2 separate regions of the Homo sapiens genome follow, and region 2 is linked to region 1. Evidence: promoter capture Hi-C in 16 types of primary human blood cells and fetal thymus (Javierre and others, 2016). All regions are on one chromosome and are shown on one strand. Each heading gives the region's core, a stretch centred on a gene start or on the middle of the fragment in contact. The rest is flanking DNA. Distances are from core to core; before and after follow the strand shown. Region 1 holds the start of TGFBI (transforming growth factor beta induced). Region 2 has its middle 6.0 kb from the start of LECT2.

Region 1 (5,751 bases), core at 1,408-3,907:
TGCTCAAAACTATCATATTGTTTCATTGAACCCTACTATATAGAACAATGACTGGGGAGAGGTAATAATAATAATAGCAATGCATATTTATTGGCCATTTTACTTGAATTGTATCATGTAATCTAGTTTAGAGTCCTGTGAGGTAGGTTTTATTATCCTCTCTATGAGGTTGAATAACTTGCCCAAGACCACACAGCTAGGAAGTAGAAAGACTGGTATTTGAACCCATCTTCTCCTTTTCTTCTCCTTCCTCCTCCTCCTCTCTTCCAACACCTGCTCCCAAGGAAGCTCATCCAGTGCATGACTTTAGCTACCACCTGCTCGTAGTGGTGACTCAAATCTGCATCTCCAATCCTCATACCTATCCTGAGCTCAAGACCTTTGAATATAGCTCCCTCCTGTCCATCCCTCCTGGAAATGCAGGTGGCTTGTTCACACATAATGTGAACACAAATGGAGCACTCTCCTCACACACCCAAATGTGCACCTTCACCAGCGTGCCCAGCACAGGCATCCCTTCCTGCCAGCTATGAGCCTCGAGGTTAGCTCTACTCCCCCTCCCTAACCCTGCATGCCCAAGGGGTTTCCAAGTCTAATCAATGCTACCACTAAAATCTCCCATACACCTGTTCCCTCCTCTCCACTAGCTTGATCACTCCCCATGCAGGCCCTCAGTTGCTTTATGCTCTCAGTAGGCCCTCCTCCAGTGCCCACACTCTCTCCCTTCTCCTTCCCACCTTCTTTCTACCAGAGTTCTAACCTCTCCAAGCCCCGCTTGTCTTTTTCTTTCCCTGGCTGCCATCCTAACTCGCCCCTTCCCTTCTCAGACAAGCTTCTACATGCTACTCATCTCTCCATCAAACCACCATATTCGGGCTTTGGCCATCTGCTCTCCACAGCCAAGTCCCCAGTGGCCTCTCTGCTTCTGACACAGTGAAAGCCATTCAGATCTGTCTTGTTGGCAGCATTCCTCACTTTGAGCAGCGCCCTCCTACTAGGATACCCCTCCTTGACTACAACCCCACATTCTCTACTTCCTGGGCTCTTCTGTCACTGGAGGATGACTCCCAGGTGTGAATCTTCATCCCGCGTCCCTCACTCAAGCCCCCGATCCTCATATCCAGCTTTATCCTCATGGGATGCTTCACCAGGATGAGTCATAAGCACCTCAGACTCAGGGTGTCCCAAACCACTCATCTACCTGGCAAGCCTGCACTCTGCATGTGCCTCATTCTGAACATGGCACCATCACCTGCTGCAATGTCCAGACCACAAACACCCTACAATATCCTTGACTCTCCTTTCTCCCCTTCTCCCTGTATACAGACTCCAAATTCTATTGAGACTATTACCTCCTACACCCCTCACATTTGCCCAGCCTTCCCCATCTCTGCCTCTACCACCATAGTTCAAGCTCTCCCATGGTCCCTTCCTGGTTACCTGTTCTTCTTGCCTCCTTAAGCCTCTCATGACACTGGCCATGTCACTTGCCTCCACCCATCACCCGCTAGGCTCTTAGCTGGAGTCTGGGCCCTGCTACCTTCCTCCCCTTCTTCCCTACCCTTGACTCCACCTCCCTGTGCTTCAGCCAACCAGATAACTTGAGTTTCGTGAATGCATGCCTCAGTTTACCTGATTAACTCATTTTCATCTTTCAGGCCTCAGAGCAGGTATCACCCTGTCAGGGCCAGGTGCCTCTTCTTAGCTCCCAAAGCCCCAGCTACTCTTCATGGAACATCATTGGCTTGGGCTACGGATCTTCCCAAATTGGAGCTTTTTCACAAAGGGCTTAGGTCTCACTCATTCTATTAATCCATCTGTGTCTCCCCAGGGCTAGCAGTGCCAAGTAACTGACAGGTGATTAATAGATGCTTGGGTAAGTATCACCTCTTTACCATGTGACAATTTGTTTACCTGCCTTGAGCTCCTCCAGGGCAGGACTCTTGCCTTTGCAGAATCTATCTGGCAGGTACTGTTGCAGAGATGTTTACTGAAGAAGGGAATGAATTAGTACCAAGGTGAGGACCCCACCCTTCCCCACGGGCTCCAAAAGCAGCTTAGAGCCCAACAAAACCTGCCCCACATTTTTGGCGTTTCTGTGGATCACACGATTTACTCATCTGTCTTTCAATGAGCATGACAGGTGGGGTGGGGGTGGAGGGATTAGAGATTGAGGAGCTGGGGAGGGTGGTCAGCTCCTGGGGTGCAGAAACAAGTCTGATGGGCCATGGTGTTCTGGGAATCAGCACTGCCTCCCCTCACCCCTCCCTGCAGTGTTTTGTAGCCTCAAGATCAGTGAGGGAATCTTCGGGCCCCCAGCATGCAGGACCGAAGCCCCCGAGACAGCTGTCCCTCAGTCCCAAGGTCCCCATTTGGAAGCAGCCACAGGAGGCCTAAGGGACCTATACCCTTGGTTTGAGGAAGACTGTGGCGAGGGAGAGAGGGAGGGAGGGCTGGCAGTGAGGGCAAGGGCTGGGAAAACTGAGCACGGGCACAGTGCGGGAGCGGGTGGGTGCCCAGGGCAGCCAGGGGCGCACGGGTTGGGAGGCGCCAGGCGGCCCGCCCTCCTTGCACGGGCCGGCCCAGCTTCCCCGCCCCTGGCGTCCGCTCCCTCCCGCTCGCAGCTTACTTAACCTGGCCCGGGCGGCGGAGGCGCTCTCACTTCCCTGGAGCCGCCCGCTTGCCCGTCGGTCGCTAGCTCGCTCGGTGCGCGTCGTCCCGCTCCATGGCGCTCTTCGTGCGGCTGCTGGCTCTCGCCCTGGCTCTGGCCCTGGGCCCCGCCGCGACCCTGGCGGGTCCCGCCAAGTCGCCCTACCAGCTGGTGCTGCAGCACAGCAGGCTCCGGGGCCGCCAGCACGGGTAAGCCGAGCCGCCTGGCCAGGGGCTGCGGAAGGTCAGGTAGTCGGGGCTCGGAGCGCAAGCCGCTGGGGGCATTGAACTGGGCTGGGGGCGCAGGGGACAAAGCCCGAACTAAAAACCTTGCAGCATGGAGCGCTCGGACACCAGCCCTGCACGCGGTGGAAGGAGAGAGGGAGGGAGGTGGAGGACCATGGAGGGAAAGCGGGAGGCCGCCGCTTTGTAGAAGGGAGTGGGGAAGTGGACCAGAGACTTTCGACGCAGGCCAAGAGCCTGAGACGGACAGCGCTTTCAGCTTCTCCTCCCAGCCACTGCAGAAAGGGGGAAATGGCAACTCTTTGGCCATAATCACCGTGGGAGGGTGCCAAGGGCAAAGCCCACCCAGCAGTACACCTATTCCAACCCAGCCAGGCCCCCGGCCAGCGACTCCAGACAAGAACCTGGGCCACACACGGTGGCAGCATCTAAGGTGCCCCAGGCTCCTGTGCTCCTGGCCAGGCCCTGCACTCAGACACTGCTGGCACCCGACACTGCTCTCTGGGTACAGCAAGGGCAATGTGGCACTTCTTGTCCTGCCCGATGAAGAGCAGGAGAATGCACTGGGCCCTCACACACACTGTTCAAATGGGGAAACTGAGTCCTGAGTGGTTCCACTTTCCCACAGTCCTGAAGTGTGCACTGGAGCCAGGATTGGAGTCTGTCTTAAAGTAATAGCTGGGTTTGTAAATGTAGGACACTATCATTGCAGGAATTCCTTTGAGACCCTGAAGATGTGTTGGCTTTAGGAGACAAACTCAAGCAGAAGGTCTGGTCTGATAGTGGCCCTAATACTGACCCAGGCAGAGGCAGGCAACATTTCTACCTCAAAAACCAGGCCATACCTGCGTCACAAATACCCAGGCTTTGCTGCAGCTTCCAGCCTACCTGGTTGCACCAACTTCTTTTTCATAACTAGGTAAAACTATATATGAGTAGAATCTTGTAGTGACTCCTCAGAGGAAGCCTAAATACCATCGGGGTCTGGCGTTCACACCCACAAGCAATGCCCAAACCTCCAAGAGACTGGGCAGATCTGTGCTCAAATCAAAACTCATTGTTGGGGGTGATAGAGTTGACTTCACAGGCCCTGAAAGTCTTGGCTCCTTGCACTAGGAGTGCTCTGGGTACGGGTACAGGCTGCCCCTTGTAGGGCATAGTTGCTCTTGTTTCCTCTACTTGTGGCTTTATGGTCTAGGCCTTTCAGGAGTTTGGGGCTCTGGCGGAGAGGGCCTGCTGGGAGCACATCTGGCCACCCTGCAGAGTGAAATCAAACCAGGCCTGGCTGCAACCTCAACACCCTCCTGGAAAGAGGAGAATACTGGGGATATCCTGGGGTCTTTCTGGAAGTGGGAGAATCAGCTTTGACTTGGGCAGTGTGCAGAATAGAGTGAGGGGGGATGTCAGAAAGATGAGAGGGATATGAGGCCTCAACATCAAAATGCAAGCACCTGGCATTTTTATTATCTCTGCCCACCTCTCCGTTGGTCTCTCTGCCTTTCCTGCCAATGAATTGTGTTATGTTTGGGTGCCTCAATTTGCCTAGGAGGGTTCTATTTCTTCTGTATCTTCGCCACTAAGTCAGGAGAAGATCCTTATAGCATGCCCTGCAACAGTGTCACCTGTAAGGGCATCTCTCTGCACAGCCACAGTGAAGGATCCTCAAAGGTATTGAGGGCTTTCCATCAAGAGCCATCTTTACAGCAAACCTCTTTCCCTTCAGAGCCCAGAAGAGTGCTGACCAGCTGGAAAACAGGGTTTTTTTCTTAAATGCAGATGCTCTTGATTATGAGTTCCAGATATTAGATCAACTTCCCCACCATACCCCTGCAGGCAAAGCCTCTTAATTAGCTTCCTGCAGCACAGCTGGAAAGGCCTATTGTAATCTGTGATGGGCAGAGTAATCTAAGAAGTCACAGGAGCACCCCTGTCCCAGTAGAATCTGGATGCGCAGGCACATGAACCATGGCAAAATGGTTGCAGGCACAGTTGTATTTACTCTGATCTAACTGTCCCTGTTAATGCCACAGGGCTGCCTGGCCTGGCACACAGGGCTGTGGCGCCTTGTGCAAATGGATAACGTTGTTCTAGCTCCAGCCTTTCATTCAAAGTGAAAACTGTTAGAAAGGGAAGGAAAACTTTGCTATTTTAAGGAATTGTAGCGTGCTGCCTGATATGAAGGAAGAAATAACAGCTGTGCCTTGCTTGTGCGCAGCACTCGATTGCCGCTTTTGCTTTCGACCTCACCACAACACAGTGAGATCTACTGTTCATGTTCCCATTTTACAGGAGGTGAAACTGCAGCTTAGTGAGGTAGAGAGTGACTTAGTTCAGACACAGAATGCTGTTGGGAGAGTAATAACTATGATATGGTCTCTTGACTCCCAGCTATATCTGTGTTGCTATAGGGAAGGGGAAAAATAATACTGAAAGAGAAGTAAAAATACAATCACACTTCCAAACATCAACCACCAAAAACTGAACTGAATTTCCTGAAGCACTTGGTTTTCAAATCTAAGCTGAACATCAATGCTGTTATTCTTGAGGCCCAGAAGCAACTTGCTCATTTCAATTAAGCTTCAGCATGAACTTCCTATGTACACAGCCCACCCACACTCCCCGATGTGAGAAGGAGAGGGTCACAGCCGCCCCCAGCCTCTGCTGCTGCCACAAGGACAGCAGCAGTGGAAACATTCAGCAAAGGAATGTTGGAGCCACATCCACAAGAGACTCACTGAAGATTCGCCAAACGCCTACGGAAAGTGGCAGGGAATTCATTGACAGTAATTGTTTCCTGCTTGATCAGATTGAAGAGCTTCTGGGATTCTGTAACAATAAATAGGACCGGGGGCTGGAGTA
Region 2 (5,751 bases), core at 1,699-4,198, 68 kb before region 1:
AAGAAAAAAAAAAGAAAAATGGGCAAAAGATAGCAGCAGACTTTCCTAAAAGAAAAAATACAGATTACCAATATGTATTTGAAAATATGATCCACTTCACTTAAAATTAACAATTGTAAACCAGAATGAGGTGTAGTTTTTCACCCATCAAATTGACAAAGGTATGTAGAAACATTTATTGAAAAGTGTAAGTTGGTTTAACCTCTTTAGAGTACAATTTTGCAATACCCCTCACATTTTTAAATGCACAAAACCTTTGCTCCAGCAATGCTATTGTTTTCCTACCTGTGGCCTGCTTTCCTCCTATTTTCCCTGCCTTCTGCATTAACTGTTTCCAATGTATCTTCCCCTCTGAAGCCAGTGCCGTCCTCTAAACTGCAGAAGAGATGGTAGGAGACTCTTTTGAAACCCGTAATGGGATAGGATCTGAGCAATGTCATCAATGCTGAAAAGCTGATGAGAAACTTTGTAATGGATGGATCAGGCTGATGATACCTAATCAATCGTATTGTTAAGAAGAGAGAGAAGGAGAGAGTATATCAGACATTTTATACCTCCTGTTGGAAATGCACAACACAACCTATAAAGTATTCTTGTCAAAAAATCAGGCTAAAGTCTTATAAGGCCATTAGCTCTAACTTTCAGTTTACAGGAACTATGCAGCACAGGGATGCATGTTAAATGTACCACAAGAATGCAGTCAGACAAATGCAGGCTGTAGGAAGTTCTACCAGATAAAGAACCTGGTTTCTTCAACAAATAAATTCTGAGGAAAGGAAAATAGAGAGAGGGGCAATCTGTGGATTAGAAGAGATTTACAAGATTTATCAACAAAATGCCGTGTATGGACTTTACTTGGAGTCTGAATCAAATGAGGAAATGATAGACAGAGAGAAACAGAGAATAGGGACAATTTTAACACTACTTGATGATATTAGAAATTATTCTGTGTAATTTTAAGCATAATACATTAGGTGTTTGTAAAAAGTTCCTATCTTTTAGAAATACATACTGAAACATTTATGGGTATGAAATCATAGGATGTTTCAGATTTGCTTCAAAATAATCCAGGAGTTAGGAGAGTAGGTAGCATATAGATTAAACACAATTGGCTATGAACTGCTAATTACTGAAGCTGGGTAATGAGTACGCAGAAGTTTACTATACTATCCTCTCCAGTTTGTTTATATTTGAAAGTTTTCCCATAGCAACAAGTTAAATAAAGACATTTGTTGGACAATTAATTTGTTGGCAATATCTTTTGAACATAAAAAAGTTCCCATACAGCAAGGAAAAACTGATTTTTCTGTAACCTTGGTAATATTTAGCCACCTATATTTTAAACCCTTTAATCAGTCAATGACAACCCACGTCTGGTAAACATGCTCTTCAAAACAACCAATCAATAACAGCCCCTTGCTTCTGACTTTCAGCCAATTAGGGACAGACTCACTCTAGTAAGTGATTCCCAGCCAATCAACAACAGTCTTACCTGAGCACCATGTCTTTTAATCCGTCAAACCTCTAACATTCCGAAAGTTCACAAACCCCCGAACTCCCAGCTTCCCAAATCCATACATAAATAAGATGAACAGGCTGCTCTGCTTGGAAAGATTGTGCCTGACCGACACAGCTCTTCCTAACTATTGTCACTCATTCAGCTTTGTCTTTTTATTTCAGATAGTGGGTTGAGTGATGGTCTCGTCCTCCTAAGAAACATAGTTGATCCTGTCCATACCCTGCGACAGAACAGCTTCACTCTTAGTTATACTCTTGCATGTGTACACGTTCAAAATGTTCATAGTAGTATCATTTGTAGTAGTGTAAAACAGGAAACAACCTATATGTGCATCAACAGTAGAATGGGAACAAATTCTGGTATTTTTGTTTAATGAAATACCCTACAAGAATGGGAATGAATAAAATACAACCAAATACATCAACTTAGATGACTCTCAAAAACATAATGGTGATTAGAAGAAAGGAAATCGGCTGGGCGTGGTGGCTCACGCCTGTAATCCCAGCACTTTGAGAGGCCGAGGTGGGCGGATCACAAGGTCAAGAGATCGAGACCAACCTGGCTAACATGGTGAAACCCTGTCTCTACTAAAAATACAAAAATTAGCTGGGCATGCTGGTGCACGCCTATAGTCCCAGCTACTAGAGAGGCTGAGGCAGGAGAATCGCTTGAACCCAGGAGGCGGAGGTTGCAGTGAGCCGAGATTGCGCCACTGCACTCCAGCCTGGGTGACAGAGCAAGACTCCATCTCACACACACACACACACACAAGAGGAAATCACAGAACAATATGCAGTATATGCTTATTAAAAGTTCAAATGCATGCTTGAAACAGTAAGCTTTATAAATTATATCTCAAGATGAAGCTGTTTCTAAAACATTCAGATACATGCAAATCTAAAGCATATATTGTTTAGGAACACATACATAGATGGTAAAACTATTAATATAAAGAAAAGCAAGAGAAGAGTTGACACAATTTGTATGCTGGTTACCTTCAGGAGAGAGGAAGGGGATGTGATCAGGGGCAGGCACCTGGGCTTCATGGGGGCTGATAATGCTCCTATAAACCTGTTGCTGGGCACAGGTGTTCATCTGGTTATTACCCTTTAAACTGTACATATATGTTTTATACATTTTATATTTTCCAGATTTTTATCTTCCAGTATTTCAACATTCACACACAATTTTAAGTGACAAAAAAATTACAATAAAAAACAAGATCAGAGTGGAACTGAAGGAGATAGAGACATGAAAAAGTCTTCAAAAAATCAGTGAATCCAGGAGCTGTTTTTTTTAAAATAATAAAATAGATAAATTATTAGCTAGACTAATAAAGAAGAAAAGAGAGAAGAATCAAATGGACACAATTAAAAATAATAAACGGATATCACTACTGACCCCACAGAAATACAAACAACCATCAGAGAATACTATAAACAGCTCTATAGCAATAAACTAGAAAATCTACGAGAAATGGATAAATTCCCAGACACATACACCCTCCCAAGACTGAACCAGGAAGAAGTTGAGTTCCTGAATAGATCAGAACAATTTGTGAAATTGAGGCAGTAATAACCTACCAACCAAAAAAGCCCAGGATCAGATGGACTTACAGCTGAATTCTACAAGAGGCACAAAGAGGAGCTGGTACCATTTCTTCTGAAATTATTCCAAACAATTGAAAAGGAGGGACTCTTGCCTAACTCATTCTATGAGGCCAGCATCATCCTGATACCAAAAGTTATCAGAGATACAACAACAAAAAAAGTCAGGCCAATATCTCTGATGAACATTGATTCATCAGAAAGAACAAAAATTTTATTGAGAACAAAAATTCTCAATAAAATACTGGCAAGCTGAATCCAGCAGCACATCAAACAGCTTATCTACCACAATCAAGTTGGCTTCATTCCTGGGATACAAGACTAGCTCAATATATGTAAATCATTTTTTAAATAATAAAAAATATTATGCAATAAAAATTGTTTAAAGATTTTTTGCAGAAGTCAGTGGAGGCAAGCTTACTGTACAGAGTGTATTGTAACAAGTGCATTCCCTGTATAATTTAATCCTCGCAAAAAGCTGAGCAATAAAGCTGAGGAAGCTTGAGGCTCAGAGAACTGAAGTGACATGTTCAGTGTTCCACAGCTGGATGTGCCAAAGCCAAGTCTCAAACTCTACTAGACTCTAGAATTCATACTTTTACATATTTTGTTATATGGTTCAATGAATGACTCATCATTCATACACAGCCTTTCTCATATTTCAGAATTTGAAGCTTGACAATCAATACATCAGTTTCATTTTACTACCTCTAAAATGAAGATGATGATATCAACCTTCATAGGATTCTTGTAAGAATTAAATGAAGTAGTATTCCTAAAATAATTACATTAGGCCAAGCACATACAAAACACTAAGGCTGGGTGCAGTGGCTCACGTCTGTAATCCAAGCACTTTGGGAGGCCAAGGCAGGTGAATCACAAGGTCAAGAGATTGAGACCATCCTGGCCAACATGGTGAAACCCTGTCTCTACTAAAAATGCAAAAATTAGCTGGGCATGGTGGCGCATGCCTGTAGTCCCAGCTACTTGGGAGGCTAAGGCAGGAGAATTGTTTGAACCCCACAGGTGGAGGTTGCAGTGAGCTGAGAGCATGCCACTACACTCCAGGCTGGTAACAGAGCAAGACTCTGTCTCAAAAAATAAAAATAAAAATAATAATTAATTAAAAATAAAAATAAAACACTTAATAAAATTCACCCTCACCTGCTTTCTTATCTACTCTAAAATGGAATTAGATGTAAACTCAGTTATTTTCCTATGGGAGCCAAATATAATCACCAAGATACAACCCCAAATGCCATAATTCGAAATGTTGAAATTCCAAAAGATCAAAATCCTGAAACTATAATTCTGGAAAAAAAATTAAAATTTTTTTAAAGCTATGATTTACATTTTCAAAAGGAGATTTACTTGAGACACATGAAAACGTGACAGAGCACTATAGGCTACTTTACACAATAAAATAGGCAAAAATACACATTTTTGCAAGCATAAGCACTTGGGTATACTAACAACGGTCATATGAATATAATAGTGATGAGAAAATGAATCATATGCATAAAGAAATAGGTCAAAAAGGGAAATGTATAAGTACATATTACTATTGTTGGAAATTGTGTGCAGCCAGATTTAACATTGCAGTTATCTGAAATACTGTGATGCACAACCCAAGTCTTTTGATGGGATCAATCAAAAACCACAGTGAATCACCATCATAACATACAGTTGTCCAAAGATCTGAGATCTTGAGAAATTTTATCTTTCACAAATGCAGATGCACAAAAGGAACATCTCCTTATTTACTGAAGATGTTTCAACGTTTTACGTACAGGCACGATGTTTACACACAAAGTCATTGTTGTGATAATATACTTTTGCGAAGTCAAATTTGCAAAAATGTATGCAATGAATTAGAACTTTCTGAAAGTCTCTACACAATTTATACCTCCAGTATTGGAAATGATGCAAAGATGAAATGTGCATAGTGAATTGTAAAAAAAAATAATGCTGAAAATTTAAAATAATAAAATAAAACTTAAAAAAGAAAAAACTAAAAAGGAAGTTTCGCATATGAAGAACTATGTTACAGGAATAGATTATAGGCATTGTGCAAAGGTAGTCTGTAAAAAATGACTGACTTTCACAGGCATTAACTGTATTTTGAAATCTTGCATTTCAGTGAATAGCTGCTTTTTTCCTTTTAGGACATGGCTTTCCTCAGAGAATATGTTCACCTTCATTTTCTATGTGGCACTGCTCTTTTAAAAATTCTTCTATGATTCTGTATACAACAACATAATAGCCTTCCCTATTAAGTTTTCCCATCTTTGGTGCCTTGGTTCCATGTTGTTTTGGGTACATAGAAGTCCATTCTCGAAATAATACTGGTGCAAAACTATTGCGGGTCTTCTTATCCTATCATGCACATAATTATTTTCTAACCAGGCAGAAACTTCACTGGCTTCTTCAGGCAAACGTGGCTTTAATTCATTAAAAGCCCCCGGAATGTAATGAGATGGAAGGAATGCTAATGCAGGCAACCGATGGCTTTTTAAACTGAAGTTTTCATTGTTGCCATATAGCATGACCAATCATCTGAATTTTCCACCAATTTCTTCTCTTTAAACCATACTTAATTCCCAAATAGAGACACTAACGAGGTAA

What was found. The method cuts DNA at HindIII sites, captures the fragments that hold promoters and counts their contacts. A CHiCAGO score of 5 or more calls a contact.
Region 2: a contact is called between a fragment that was not itself captured here and the fragment with the promoter of TGFBI in region 1, in 1 of 17 cell types (monocytes). The highest score is 7.1, in monocytes.

The regions. Positions count from the first base shown.
Region 1 is chr5:136,026,331-136,032,081 of GRCh38, forward strand. It overlaps TGFBI (transforming growth factor beta induced), which reads left to right and starts at 2,658. Exons shown (of 17, transcript NM_000358.3): 1 at 2,658-2,859. The coding sequence starts at 2,726. RefSeq lists an enhancer at 4,875-4,944. The HindIII fragment of the contact is 4,637 bases long and covers 831-5,467 here.
Region 2 is chr5:135,958,059-135,963,809 of GRCh38, forward strand. No RefSeq gene overlaps it. Among named protein-coding and RNA genes, the nearest start is that of LECT2, 6.0 kb to the left of the region's middle. The HindIII fragment of the contact is 1,184 bases long and covers 2,357-3,540 here.